Linked DNA regions of Homo sapiens: regions 1, 2, 4 and 5 are each linked to region 3. The links are contacts of gene promoters, found by promoter capture Hi-C in blood cells and fetal thymus (Javierre and others, 2016). All regions are on one chromosome and are shown on one strand. The core of a region is centred on a gene start or on the middle of the fragment in contact, and the rest is flanking DNA. Distances in the headings are between cores, read along the strand shown.

Region 1 (2,819 bases), core at 186-2,685, 570 kb before region 3:
TAAGTTTTAAAATTACAATATTTACCCCTAGCACCAAGATTGTCTCAAAATACCACTAAAAGAAAACAAGCCTTCCTGGAGAGAGTGCTGATTCCAGGTCTAGGCCAGAAATGTATAAGATAAGCCTGGAACACTGTCACTCTGGATAGCAAGGAATCTATCAAAGATTAGGATGCTTTCAACACGTCTGAAGAGCCAATCTGAAGGGACTCCTTCTAACCAAAGATAGGACATTTTATACATTAATAAGGATAATAATTGCAGTGGATTGAAATACATCAAATGTGTTTGAATGTCTGCATTCATAATGATTCTTTATAAAAAATAAAAGTGGGTTGGCCAGCCACAAGGGCTCATGCCTGTAATCCCAGCACTTAGGGAGGCCAAGGCAGGAAGATCACCCGAGGTCAGGAGTTCGCAACCAGCCTGGCCAACCTGGTGAAACCGCATCTCTACTAAAAGTACAAAATTAGCTGGGTGTAATGGTGCATGCCTGTAATCCCAGCTACTCAGGAGGGTGAGGCAGGAGAATCACTTGAACCCAGGAGGTGGAGGTTGCAGTAAGCCGAGACCTCGCCATTGCGCTCCAGCCTGGGCAACAGAGCAAGACTCCATCTCAAAAAAAAAGAATAAATAAATAAATAAATGTGGGCTGGGGACAGTGGCTCATGCCTTTGGGAGGCCGAGGCAGGAGAATCACTTCAGCCCAGGAGTTCAAGACCAGCCTGGACAACACAGGGGGACCCTGTCTCTACAAAAAATGTTTTAAATTACTCAGGCTTAAGGGCCCATGTCTGTGGTCCCAGGTACTCAGGAGGCTGAGATGGGAGGATTGCCTGAGCACAGAAGTTTGAGGCTGTGGTGGCATGATTGTCCCACTGCATGCCAGCCTGAGCAACAGAGCTAGACCGTCCCTGTCTAAATAAATAAACAAATAAAAGTAGTCACCATCAAAGGATATAAATGAAGCAGACCATCATTTTGAAAAATGGTAAACAAAAAGAACAAATCAAGCCACTAACTGGCCTTTTCTATATAAATTGTACAACTGGGTAGCACAATAATTTATAAGAAGCTGCATCTCTTTTTTATATTTACTTTTTTTTCTTCATGGAAGGCCCTTCTCAGGGTAGCAATATTTCTTTCTGGAAGTATGGCAGCTCATAAATGAAGAAGGAATGATATAACAATACCATCATTGTTCAATCCATAATTGATCACTGGCTGTTAACATTATAAAAAAAAAAAGGTGGCCAGAGAGTACACACCTCCTGCTGGAAGAACTTAGCACAGTCTTTTTGCCTTGACCCCTCAAATCCAACATGAATCTGATCAAGCTTTCAGATCAAACTACTAATTTATCAAAACTAGAACAAAGTGAAGAACAAGTTAATCAACATCACAAGGATACAATTAGCCAAATTCAAACTACCAGAAATAGCATAATGAGAATACAGTTAGCATAATCCAAACTATGGGGAAACTGCCTAATTTATTAAATAAACTGCAAGAGACAAAAAAGAGATCAAGTGGGGAAGCTTTCAGGATCAAAAAAAAGCTAAGATACGAATGAAGCAATCCAAAAGAGAGACTTTATTTGGATCCTGATTCAAACAAACAAAAAAAATATGAAATTACTGGAAATTTGGAGCTAGCAGGGGAGTTGACAATATTAAAGAGCAATGGTGTGGGATGGTTGGTTGAACATGGTATTGGGATTATGTTTTTAAAAGAGTTCTTGTCACCAGGAAAGTGGTTCATACCTGTAATCTCAGTATTTTGGGAGGCCGAGGCAGGAAGATCATTTGAAGCTGGGAATTCTAGACCAGCCGGGCAACATAGCAAGACCCTGTCTCTACTAAAATAAAAATTAAAAATTAGCTGGGCATGGGGGTGTGGGTCTATAGTCCCAGCTACTTAGGAAGCTGAGGCAGGAGGGGTCAAGGCCACAGTGAGCCATAATCGTGCCACTGAATTCCAGCCCGGGCGACAGAGGCCTTGTCTTGAAAGAACAAAACAAGAATCCTTATCTTTTACAGACATATACCAAGACATTCAGGGAGGAAATTATATGATATGTGGGATTTGCTATAAAATAACGAGAGGAAGAGGAGAAGCATGCAGGAGTGTACATGAAACAAGATTGGCCACGAGATGACAAATATCTGAATCCGCTGATGAGTAGGTGAAAGCTCACTACGCTAGCCTCTTGTTTAAAATGCTCCAGAATAGAAAGTGTGTCTGAAAATCCACTTCATGGGTTTGTAGCAAGCATTGAATAAGATCATGTATACAGAGTGCTTTATAACCATGGCTTACAGGTAGTCAGTACACATTGTTTTTAGTTTTGTATACTCCCCGTCCATTAATCACATCCAAAAAAGGTATGTTATTCACACTAAGAGCTCTGGCCCATGGACCTTTGTCCACTTGGTGGTAATTTATTGAAATTTGGGGTTTAGAATGAGGAAATGCCAGCCTTCAGAGCCCCAGGCTTACTATGCAACAGCAAAGCCAACAGTCCCAAATGCCTTCCTAGCACACCTAGTAAGTAGGATCACTTTCCTCTCACCTTGTAGGCATACTTGAGTTCATTCACTCATTCATTCACTATTTTTCATTCATTTCTTATGTGCCAGGTATTGGGTGTTAGGAATCCATAATACAGTGAACCCATAATTGACTGCAAGCATCACTTTCAAAGCATCATTTCAGGATGAGAATTTAAGTGCCAAGTGAATTCAAGGAACAGTGCAAAGGATCCATGGCCTCAGTCACCATGAAGACCCTCCCAAGAGCCAGCCCTACTGGGCACATAT
Region 2 (2,935 bases), core at 369-2,868, 520 kb after region 3:
ACGGACCCTGCGCCCACCACCGTGTACCTGTGTAAACACCATACTGCGCAAAGTCCACCAGCCTTCCAGGGAGAACATGCTGCACTGTGGGCGACACTGCCTCCGTTCCAGCAGCAATGTAAGCGGAGTCTGGGCTGACGATGGACGTGTGGATAGCCTGTATGTGTATATCTGTGCTCATGCTTCTAACACACATCCACCCTATTATGGACACGTTTATACATCTTCATGCCATGGTATTTTGTACCTTACTGCAGACCCTACCAACGCTTCAGTGAGGTTCTGGCAGCTTTGGGTTTTTGGAGGCTATTTGTCTGTTGCTGCGGGGACGGCTTTCAGAAAGAATGATCGCTTTGGGGGAATTGTACCCTGCTTTCCTGCGCAAATTCCAGCGGCTGGAGTTTGAGGCCCCTAGCAGATAACCCTTCTGCCCCTACCCCCATGAGTCTACATACAAGAAATACATCTCTAAAGAGGTAATAAGCCTTTCCGGTGTGCATGTTACAGATCTCTTAACCTTATATATACACAGATGGTCCATCACTTACCGTGGTTTCACTTACGATGTTTCGACTTCATGATGGGTTCACTGGGACTTGACCCCATTTTTTTTTTTTTTTTTTAGACGGAGTCTTGCTCTTGTCGATCTCTGCTCACTGCAACCTCCGCTTCTTGGGTTCAAGTTATTCTCCTGCCTCAGCCTCTTAAGTAGCTGGGATTAAGCGCCACCACGCCGAGCTAATTTTTGTACTTTTAGTAGAGATGGGGTTTCACTATGTTGGTCAGGCTGGTCTCGAACTCCTGACCTCAGGTGATCCGCCTGCCTCAGCATCCCAAAGTGCTGGGATTACAGGTGTGAGCCACCGCGCCCCCTGACCCCTTCTTAAGTGGAGAAATATCTGTATCTGCATGCCCACAGGGGAGCTCCTAATTACACCATGTGCCGCATCCAAGCCACAGGCCGGTGATGTGAAGACACCCGATCCAAGAAATACAATAGCATTAAGAAAGAAAAAATGCTGCCATGGATACTACCAAACGCCAAATGACTCTAACACGTAGGCTAATTGCAAGGACCTTAAAATCGCAAATAAAAAGGCGCCTGTAGGTCGGGCGCGGTGGCCCACACCTGTAATCCCAGCACTTTAGGAGGCGGGCGGATCACCTGAGACCAGCCTGGCCAGCATGGCGGAACCCCATCGCTACTAAAATACAAAAATTAGCCAGGAGTGGTGGCGCATGCCTGTAATCCCAGCTACTCCGGAGCCTGAGGCAGGAGAATCGCTTGAACCCAGGAGGCGGAGTTTGCAGTGAACCGAGACAGCGCAACCGCACTCCAGCCTGGACGACAGAATGAGACTCCGTCTCAAAAAAAAAAAAAAAAAAAAAAAGCGAGGGCTGGAAGTCTGGAGCAGGTGCGCGGCTGCAACGGCAGCCGCGGGAAGCTCGGGCCGGCAGGGTTTCCCCGCACGCTGGCGCCCAGCTCCCGGCGCGGAGGCCGCTGTAAGTTTCGCTTTCCATTCAGTGGAAAACGAAAGCTGGGCGGGGTGCCACGAGCGCGGGGCCAGACCAAGGCGGGCCCGGAGCGGAACTTCGGTCCCAGCTCGGTCCCCGGCTCAGTCCCGACGTGGAACTCAGCAGCGGAGGCTGGACGCTTGCATGGCGCTTGAGGCAAGTTCGGGGCTCATTTTGGAAGTTTTCTTTCTAGCACAGACATCCAACTCTGCTCCTATGCCAGTCAGATAATTAAGGAATTAAGTAATAATTGTGCTCTGCAAATTATGATAGTGATCTGTATTTACTACGTGCATATATTTTGGGCCAGTGAATTTTTTTCTAAGCTAATATAGTTATTTGGACTTTTGACATGACTTTGTGTTTAATTAAAACAAAAAAAGAAATTGCAGAAGTGTTGTAAGCTTGTAAAAAAATTCAAACAATGCAGACAAATGTGTCTCGCAGTCTTCCACTCAGTATCATTTTTGTTTGTACCTTATCAGAAATGTTTCTATGTACAAGTCTTTAAAATCATTTCGAACTTGCTTTGTCCACTGAGTATATTATGGACATCTTTTCATGGCAGGACATATAGATGTGTTAATGGCATTAAAAATAAAACAAAAAACTGATTCGGCCGGGTACGGTGGCTCACGCCTGTAATCCCAGCACTTTGGGAGATCGAGGAGGGAGGATCACCTGAGGTCAGGAGTTACAGACATGGAGAAACCCCGTCTCTACTAAAAATACAAAATTAGCCTGGCGTGGTGGCGCATGCCTGTAATCCCAGCTACTCGGGAGGCTGAGGCAGGAGAATCGCTTGAACCCGGGAGCGGAGGTTGCGGTGAGCCGAGATCGCACCGTTGCACTCCAGCCTGGGCGACAGAGCGAAACTGTCTCAAACAAACAAACAAAAAAACCTGATACATGGTATGGGAAGTACATTGTTTAAACAATGCATGGAGATTTAGGTTGTTTCCAGTTTTTACTGGCACAGATACGGCAATGAATATAATTTTATGTATACATTCATACAAATATATCGGTGGAAAATTCCTAGAAGTGGAATGGCTGGGTCAGTGGGCATTCATATTGAGAAATTGGAAGGATGTTGTCAAACTCTGCAAATCAGAGTATTTTAGTCTTAACCTCTCTTCTTCACACCCTTTTCCTTGGAAGAAAGCTAAATTTAGACTTTTAAACACAAAACTCCATTTTGAGACCCCTGAAAATCTGGGTTCAAAGTGTTTGAAAATTAAAGCAGAGGCTTTAATTTGTACTTATTTAGGTATAATTTGTACTTTAAAGTTGTTCCAGAAAACAAGGCAAATACTGAAAAGCATTTCATCTGAAGTTTCTTTCTGGTATTGAACAGAGTTGGATGGAGAGTGAATGCAGGTTACCGATGTGTTCGCAGGAACAAAACGGGAGGGAGAGT
Region 3 (2,700 bases), core at 115-2,614:
TCCCAAAGTGCTGGTATTACAGACGTGAGCCACCATGCCCGGCCCCAGCCTGTATCTCACAAATGTTAACACACACATTAGTGGGAGACCAATCATTACAATCCATTATGATAGAGGGGACTTCCCCAAAATGAAGATTAACAGTACATACAGGCCTGGCGCGTTGGCTCATGCCTGTAATCCCAGCACTTTGGGAGGCCCAGGTGGGAAGATCACCTGAGGTCAGGAGTTCAAGACCAGCCAGGCCAATATGGTGAGACCCTGCCTCTACTAAAAAAAATACAAAAATTAGCCGGGCTTGGGGCGCGAGTCTGTAATCCCAGCTTCTAGGGAGGCTGAGGCAGGAGAATCACTTGAACCCGGGGCGGAGGTTGCAGTGAGCCGAGATCGCGCCCTTGCACTCCAGCCTGGGCGACAGAGTGAGACTCCGTCTCAAAAAAAAAAAAAAGAAAAAAAGAAAAAAACACAGTTCATAAAGTGAACGACCTTGTCAAAACACTGGTTGGAAGCAGGTCTCTTCCCTCCGCACTGTTTCCTATCATATAGCCTTAAGCATTTCCCTCAGGGTTAAAAAAAAAAAAAGTGACAAGGCTGGTTTGTTTTTTTTTTTTCTTTTTCCAGAGGGAGTCTCGCCCTGTCGCCCATGCTGGAGTGCAAAGGCGCGATCTCGGCTAACTGCAACCTCCGCCTCCGGGTTCAGCTTCCCGAGTAGCTGGGATTACAGGCGCGCGCCACCACGTCCGGCTAATTTTCTATTTTTAGTAGAGACCGGGGTTTCACCATTTTGGCCAGGCTAGTCTCGGACTCCTGACCTCAGGTGATCCGGCCGCCTCGGCCTCCCAAAATACTGGGATTACAGGCGTGAGCCACTGCCCCTGGCCACAAGGCTGTTTTCAATCCTTGCACAGATCTCTGTCCGACTAGGCACAGTGAATACCCTTGGAAAACAGGGAATGCTGAGGTGGGAGGCAAAGAGCCAGGGCGTTCAAGAAGGCAGCGCGCAGGCAAGCGGGCAGTGCCCAAGACCCGAGCAAAAGTCACATGAGCTGCGGGGCAAATCTCCGTCCTCAGGCCGACCTCTTGGATCTGGTGACTTGGAGCAAGGGACCTTCCTGCGGCATCTGGGCGGCTCAAGGCCCGCGGCCTTCCCTAGGCGGGCTCCAGCCCACTCCCCGGGACTGCCGCCGCGGCTTCGTAAGACCCAACCAAGCCCCTCACCTGCTTTTGCACGTCAGCATCGCTGAGAGCCATGGCGAGAGCAATGCTAGGCCGGTGAACAGTAGGCTCGAGTTTAGGTTTGAAAGGTGAGGTGAGAGAAATCGGCAAAGGGAACCCCTGCGCAGATCTCGGGTTCCTTTACTTTATAACCGCGGGTTCCGGTTCCTGCCAGGTGACTGCACAGTTCATCCTCATGACCCTTCTCAGCCAATGGGAAGAGAGCGACGCCCAGGAAGTCCCGCCCTGTCCCGGCCTGTGGGCGCGTCCTCGGGTCCTTCTACGTCGCTGACTCGTGACCTGACCGGTATTTTTTTCCTAAACTGGGATCTTGGGTAGGAGGAAGAAAAGATAAGGAGTTCCTCTATCTGAAATTAGTCGGGCTGTTTTGAGGAGTACTGGTTAGGTATATTGGAGAATGTGCCTTTATTGGAATTTTTCGCATAATTACACAGGGTTATGGGCTTAGGGGTACATGATTGTTGGCCGGGCGTGGTGGCTCACGCCTGCAATCCGGAGACTTTGGGAGACCAAGGCGGGTGTATCGCTTGACCTCAAGTTCGAGACCAGGCTGGACAACATAGAGGAACCCCGTCTCTACCAAAAGAAAAAAAAAAGGGGGATACATGATTTCTGACTATTCATGTCAACCTTGATTACCTGAATAAAGTGTAGGGTTTGTAGGTTTCTCCACTCTGAAGTTACCTTTTTTAACCCCCTTTCCATACTGTAGTCTTAGGAAGGAAGCCACTATACAAAGCCCACACCTAGGGAGTGGGAAGCTATGCTCAACTTCCTTATTAGGGTGGAGCAGCTACATAATTTATTTGGAACTTTTCTGAGATAGCCTATATATTTTTCAAAAGCCTTCCCAGGTCCCATTTAGAGGAATATTAGGACAGAAATCCCCCCAGGCTCATTTGTTTTTATTTGGATTTACCTCAAGCCCGTTTTTTTCCCCAAAATCCCAAAGGCAAAAACTTTTGAAAATTCCTTTATCTTTAGGATAGACTGACTCCTAATAGTAGAATAAGAGGTCAAATGGTACACCCACTTTTTTCTTTTTACTGTGCTATGGTTACCCACCATTTTTATTAGCTTTTTATCTTGAAGAAATTTGAGATATAGTAACTTGTAAGAATACTGCATTGACCTCCCTTCACCTAGATTCAACAATTGTTAACATTTTGCTACATGTACATTAACACTTTATTTTCATACACACACACACACACACACACACACACACTTCCTATTTTAGTGTGTCATAAGAACGAGGATGTAGCAAATTCAGGAAATTTAGTTTACTAGGCTGAACATTAATTTCCTTTGTCCCGGGCCAGGCGCGGTGTCTCACGCCTGTAATCCCACCACTTTGGGAGGCTGAGGTGGGCAGATCACCTGAGGTCGGGATTTCGAGACCAGCCTGACCAACATGGAGAAACCCCAGTCTCTACTAAAAATACAAAATTAACAGGCGTGGTG
Region 4 (2,700 bases), core at 112-2,611, 540 kb before region 3:
TTCTGTATTATTTGTGATATCCTTAAAATAAACTGGGAAATGTGTTTCCCTGAGTTCTCTGAGCAGCTTTAGCAAATTAATTGAACTGAAAGAGAGGAGCATGAGAATCTCACGTTGAACCCGGTTGGTCTTAGAAGTTCTGGAGGCCCAGACTTACCACTGGTGTCTAGGGGGTGGGCGGTCTTGGGGACTGAGCACTCAACCTGTGGGATCTGATGCTATCTCCAAATAGTGTCAGAATTAAATTGGAGGATACCCAGCTGGTGTCTGCTGCCGAATTGATTGCTTGCTTGGTGGTGGGAAGAAACCACCCCCCGCCAATATGTAGTCACAGAAGTCTTCTGTGACTTCTGTTGATTGTTGTGGTGATGTGAGGGCAGAGGAAAAATACAGCTTGAGTTTTTCCACACTCTCGGGGAATATGTGTCCTTCTCTTCCAGAATATTTTCTTTCTTTCCTTTTTTAAAAAATAACTTCTTCCTTCTGTTTTTTTGTTAATCTCCTTCTAGAAATCTAGTCAATCATATTTTGTTTCCTAAATTGAATCTCTAATGATCATATATTTTTTCCTATTCTATTTGTGCTTTCAGAGAAATGTCCTCAATTTCATAGACTAACCCTTCTATTGAATTTTTATTTAGTAGAACTTCTATTGAGTTTCAAGGTTCAGTTTTCATTCTCTGCCTGCTCATTTGTCCATGGTGTCCTGCCCCTGTCTTACAGATGCAGTGTTGTATCTCTTCGGGGCTATAATAATTTTACTTGTTTGGTTTAATTGTGTTAACAGCATTGTTTTTTTTTTCCTTCCAGGAGCATTTTTTAATTGTTTTGATCTATTTTTCATACAGAAAACCTATCTCAAATATCTGGTACTCCTTGGCTGTCTGAGAATATTTTAAGAATGAAGTCCTAAAAGCTGATTAAATGCTCTGTGTAGTTAAGGTTTATTGAACATTGGACTTCACTGTATAGGAGGTCAAGCTAATCGTGAACCTGGCCTATTGGGTGACCTCCAAATGCTGAAATCTGGAGGTGTTTTTTTTGGGCCTGGCTGCCAGCATTCTGAGATCAGAGCACGGAAAGAGAGGATAAGGTTCCCAACACTCCATATGTAGACCTTCACTTAATTCTCCCTGCCCCTAAGCCCTGAACGTTATAAGGTTCTGAGGGGCCCCTGGCCTCCTTATCAATAACTCCCTTTTGTAGCATTCAGACAGAAGTTCCTCCACTCAGCACAAGCCAGCTGCCTACTCTGCTGCCACTTGGACAGTTATTTATTTATTCATTCATTTGTTCATTTTTGAGGTTTTATAATTTTATTTGACATCAACAGTTTGTTCTCATCCACAATGTCTGACTGTCAGTTTCTGAAAGTGGTAATGGGTACACAGGTAACCAAAGTATAGAGCTTGCTTGGTGAATCTTCATCCTCATGCTTTCTGGACAGCTGCACATGGACACAGTATGGAACGTTCCTTATTCCTTTGGTCCAGACAGCTTTGTTGAGCCTGGTGTTAGCATATCTGGAGTCCCCATCTCCTTCATGGCAAAGTTCTGGGACTTTTTGAGTGACCAAGGGGCACACTGCTTGACGTCCCCTCCATGGGTGTGCTTGTGGATGCTGATGGCATATTCTGGTGTCACCACCTCATTGGTGGCAGGTGACAGAATAGCCCTTTTATTTTATTTTATCTTACTTTATTTTATTTTATTTTATTTTATTTAGACAGAGTCTCGCTCTGTCGCCCAGGATAGAGTACAGTGGCACAGTCTTGGCTCACTGAAGCCTCTGCCTCCCAGGTTCAAGCAATTCTCCCACCTCAGCCTCTCAAATAGCTGGGACTACAGGCACATGCCACCACACCCAGCTAATTTTTGTATTTTTAGTAGAGACAGGGTTTCACCATCTCTTGGCCAGGCTGGTCTTAAACTCCTGACTTCAGGTGATCCACCTACCTCAGCCTCCCAAAAGTGCTGGGATTACACGCATGAGCCACTGCGCCCAGCCAACACTCTTCTTTACAGGAGCTATGCTGCTGGGGCCAAGTTGGAAAGGACTTTTAAAATTTTGTTCACATCTTTTGTCCACTGAGTTTGGCTCTTTGAGTTTGAGAATTTACAAAAAAAAATGTTCTTTCCTATAATTGTTATATTGTTTGGAGAGAGGGAGAAAATATGTGTATATGGTCAATGCGCTATTACCTCTAATAGAATTGTTATTCTATATTTCACCTATATGTATATTTTTCAGTTTTGATTAAATCTTTTTTCCCCTTATCTTCCCTCATGCCATCTCCTCTGCTTGTGTGCCCTTTGCCCCCAGCAAACTGTGTTAACACCTGTTAACATGTTTCTATTCTCATTTAGTCATACACACACTCTCTCTCTCTCTCTCTCTCTCTCTCTCTCTCTCTATATATATATATATATATATATATATTCAGGGAGATCTTTTTCATGACTTATTTCCATAGAAATTGGGATCATACTATAAAAAGTTATTTGAAACTTATTTTCCTCTCTCATCAACACATTCCAGCCATCTGCAGGTCAACAGATGTCTATGCAACTAATTCTCATTCTCTTTAATATTTGCATAATATTCCATAGTAGATAGCAATCTATTCAACCATTTCTAGTTTGATGGACATTTAGATTTAAACTAGATCTCACCTTAATTCAGCCATTCTCTATTGATGA
Region 5 (2,700 bases), core at 64-2,563, 510 kb before region 3:
ATCACCTTATTTTACATCCGCTCCAGGGAGAAATGAAGACATGGTCCTACGTTGTTCTGTAATTATTTTCTATGTAAATTTTGTTCCTTGTTACAATTATATATGTCTTAGGGGAAAGGACCATTTCACATGTGTCACCTCATGTGATTCTCACCACAGCCCTGTGATTGCTCCTGTTTTATAAATAATGACATAGTTCCAGTTGATGGCCAAAGCCACAGCTAACGAGAGGCAGAGAGAGCTCAGGCTCCCAGGAGCTTCCACTCTCAGACCTTGCCTCCCGGGCTGCCCTGAGTGAAACGCCTGCTTAGCATTTGGCACAGCCAGAAGCAGCAAGCTAGGGTCACAACACAGAGAGGGGCTGTGTAATACTGGCTGCCTCTGTGCTAAGAAAAAAAAAAAATCACTGTGTGTTTGTTTATTTTGGTGCAGGCCCAGTGTTCTTGCTTAGACTTAATACTACCCTTCATGTTAAAATAAAACCAAACAAAAACCCATGGCCTTGTTCTTCTTATTCATACGTAAGAATTTGTGCTTCTGGCTGGGGCAAGAGTGATAGAGGAGGGCACAGTATTTAAAAATTAGTTTCTCAAGATGTTCCCCCTTTGGAAAGCTACTCTTTTAGAAAGAAATGGGAAGCCGGGCGTGGTGGCACACTTCTGTAGTCCCAGCTACTTGGGAGGCTGAGGCAGGAGGATTGTTTGAGCCCAGGAGGTTGAGGCTGCAGTGAACTATGATGGCGCCACTGCACTCCAGCCCAGGTGACAGAGTGAGACCCTGTCTCAAAAACAAAGAAAAAGAAAGAAGGAAGGAAAGAAAAGTGAGAGAGAGCCGAGGGTGATGAGAAAAAATCGTTCTCAGGCTGAGTCCATTAGAGCTGAGCTGGCTGTGCCAACAAAGCATGTCAAGACACTCACCAGCTCCAGGCCACAGCTTCACTGCCTCCCTGAAAAACATGCCAACTGCCTAGAAGGGCCAAGGTGTACCCATAATGTTAACACAAACTTATAAAATAATGGCGAATGTCACAGTGACATTTAAGAATTTTGTAAGGAAACCAGGACAGAAAAGATCTTAAAACAAACCACACAGGAAGCTTGTCACAAGTCTCAAGTTTTTTATTTTCAGAACAGAGTCTGGTTTTATTTTTAAAAAGAGAAGGAAAAAAGTGATAAATGCTAGTGAGGTGCCACTTCCCTCCTTCTTCCAGGCTCTAACCGCCAGCTAGCTCTCTTTCACAAAACCCACGGATGCAGAATCAGGACATGTTAAAATGGAACAGTCTTTAGAGAGGGTCTAGTCTTTTTAAAATAAGTAAGGATTTGGGGACTAACAGAGAGGAAGCCCCTGACTTGCTGAATTGTTAGGAGCAGGCGGTTCTCGAGATTCTGAGCCCAGGATCCTTTTCTGTGAACCATGCACGTGCTGGCACTGGCCTCAGGAGACAGTGCCCTGCCTTGGCTGTCAGGTCCACGGAGAAATCTCAGGTTTGCCCCTTCACTAGGGATGCCCTAGAAAGCAAGGGCAAAGGAAGCTTTAGGGGTCATCGTGACTGGGGCAGGGGAAGTGAGTGCAAGGACTCAAGAAAAACACAGCAGAGGAAGGGACTGACCCTCTGAGCACACAGTGGTTGACCCACATGTGTAAAAGAGGGTGACTGGGGCTGAACTGGGGGCCTGATATCTGCCAGAATTGGCCAAGTTGCCATCAGCTTCTTGACATATCCAGGGAAGTGGCAGCTCATTGGAACTTATCACAGCCTCCCACCAAAAACCTAACAAACAGTACAGAGATTTTACAGTCAGGGAGGCCCAGCAGGAGATGGCCATCCAAACAATAGAAGGGGGGCAGATCAGGGGGCCAGCCAGCGGCTGGCCATGGCTCAGACACAATGTCCTTTCACAGTCACTGAGATTAGGTAGCAGAGAAACACAGCAAAGCTGGAGAGAGGACATGGGAACAGCGAGCAGCTGTTGGTACCCACCCAGGGCCCAGGCCCCAGAACCTTGAGTACAATCAAAGGGAGAGGAGAGGAGTCAGTGGGGGCAGGGGAAGAAGGCAGAAAAAAATACCAATTAAGTGTGAAATCCAGCCAGCTATTGGGCCACATAGGGTGAGGGACTGGAAGCACAGATTGTGCATGGAGTGTAAACATTTTCCCCCGCTGTTCCCTGCTCTGAGAGCATGAGGAGGCTCAAGAGAACTCTGGTCAAGCCTTCTGCCCCTCTTATGTCTGTCTACAAGGGTGTCTTCTGCTCCAAGCCCCCAAAACAGTTGTAAGAGGGGGCTTCAAGTGGGAGGCGGGGGCTTGGCCTGGGTGCTGAGTTAACGGCCAGTGACTTGGCACTTCTGACCCTCCCTGTGCACTCTGCAGCTGTGCCAGGCCCTGCCCCACACCCAGCCCAGGCACCCAAGCCCTCCCTCCGGCCTTCTCTGCTGGGGCTTCACACACCCAGTACAGAGCAGGGAATGTTCTGCAAGTGCAGCCTGGCTGGCTTCTCTCCCAGCCACCTTTACAGGGAGCATCAGGACCAGGGCTTTCAAGAGCCACAAACTCAAAAGAATGTGAGAGCTGAAATTACCTTCAACCTTAGAGATCACTCATCTAACTTCTACTTTTTTAATGTGAGAAAACAGGCCCAGGAAATAAAAATATGTCACTCAAAGCCAATGAGTGACAGAATCAGAACTAGAATCCAC

What was found. The method cuts DNA at HindIII sites, captures the fragments that hold promoters and counts their contacts. A CHiCAGO score of 5 or more calls a contact.
Region 1: a contact is called between a fragment that was not itself captured here and the fragment with the promoter of ATP6V1E1 in region 3, in 1 of 17 cell types (non-activated CD4 T cells). The highest score is 5.1, in non-activated CD4 T cells.
Region 2: a contact is called between the fragment with the promoter of USP18 here and the fragment with the promoter of ATP6V1E1 in region 3, in 1 of 17 cell types (erythroblasts). The highest score is 7.1, in erythroblasts.
Region 4: a contact is called between a fragment that was not itself captured here and the fragment with the promoter of ATP6V1E1 in region 3, in 7 of 17 cell types (neutrophils, total CD4 T cells, naive CD4 T cells and 4 more). The highest score is 9.9, in neutrophils.
Region 5: a fragment that was not itself captured here is called in contact with the fragment with the promoter of ATP6V1E1 in region 3 in 5 of 17 cell types (total CD4 T cells, non-activated CD4 T cells, endothelial precursors and 2 more); the score reaches 6.8 in total CD4 T cells.

The regions. Positions count from the first base shown.
Region 1 is chr22:17,052,926-17,055,744 of GRCh38, forward strand. All of the region lies in intron 3 of CECR7 (cat eye syndrome chromosome region, candidate 7), which reads left to right. Among named protein-coding and RNA genes, the nearest start is that of CECR7, 18 kb to the left of the region's middle. RefSeq lists an enhancer at 2,655-2,819. The HindIII fragment of the contact is 201 bases long and covers 1,336-1,536 here.
Region 2 is chr22:18,148,552-18,151,486 of GRCh38, forward strand. It overlaps USP18 (ubiquitin specific peptidase 18), which reads left to right and starts at 1,619. Exons shown (of 11, transcript NM_017414.4): 1 at 1,619-1,671. LOC124905076 (a long non-coding RNA gene) reads right to left here and starts at 663. Exons shown (of 2, transcript XR_007067999.1): 1 at 549-663. RefSeq lists an enhancer at 1,360-1,679. The HindIII fragment of the contact is 4,848 bases long and covers 1-1,917 here.
Region 3 is chr22:17,627,385-17,630,084 of GRCh38, forward strand. It overlaps ATP6V1E1 (ATPase H+ transporting V1 subunit E1), which reads right to left and starts at 1,365. Exons shown (of 9, transcript NM_001696.4): 1 at 1,219-1,365. The coding sequence starts at 1,251. It also overlaps a transcript of BCL2L13 not described here. RefSeq lists enhancers at 1,060-1,209, 1,290-1,379, 1,321-1,490. The HindIII fragment of the contact is 8,319 bases long and covers 1-2,700 here.
Region 4 is chr22:17,092,279-17,094,978 of GRCh38, forward strand. All of the region lies in intron 1 of IL17RA (interleukin 17 receptor A), which reads left to right. It also overlaps the pseudogene RPL31P62. Among named protein-coding and RNA genes, the nearest start is that of IL17RA, 8.6 kb to the left of the region's middle. The HindIII fragment of the contact is 2,792 bases long and covers 1-2,700 here.
Region 5 is chr22:17,115,197-17,117,896 of GRCh38, forward strand. IL17RA (interleukin 17 receptor A) reads left to right here. Exons shown (of 13, transcript NM_014339.7): 13 at 1-497. It overlaps TMEM121B (transmembrane protein 121B), which reads right to left. Exons shown (of 1, transcript NM_031890.4): 1 at 1,101-2,700. Among named protein-coding and RNA genes, the nearest start is that of TMEM121B, 4.8 kb to the right of the region's middle. The HindIII fragment of the contact is 438 bases long and covers 1,095-1,532 here.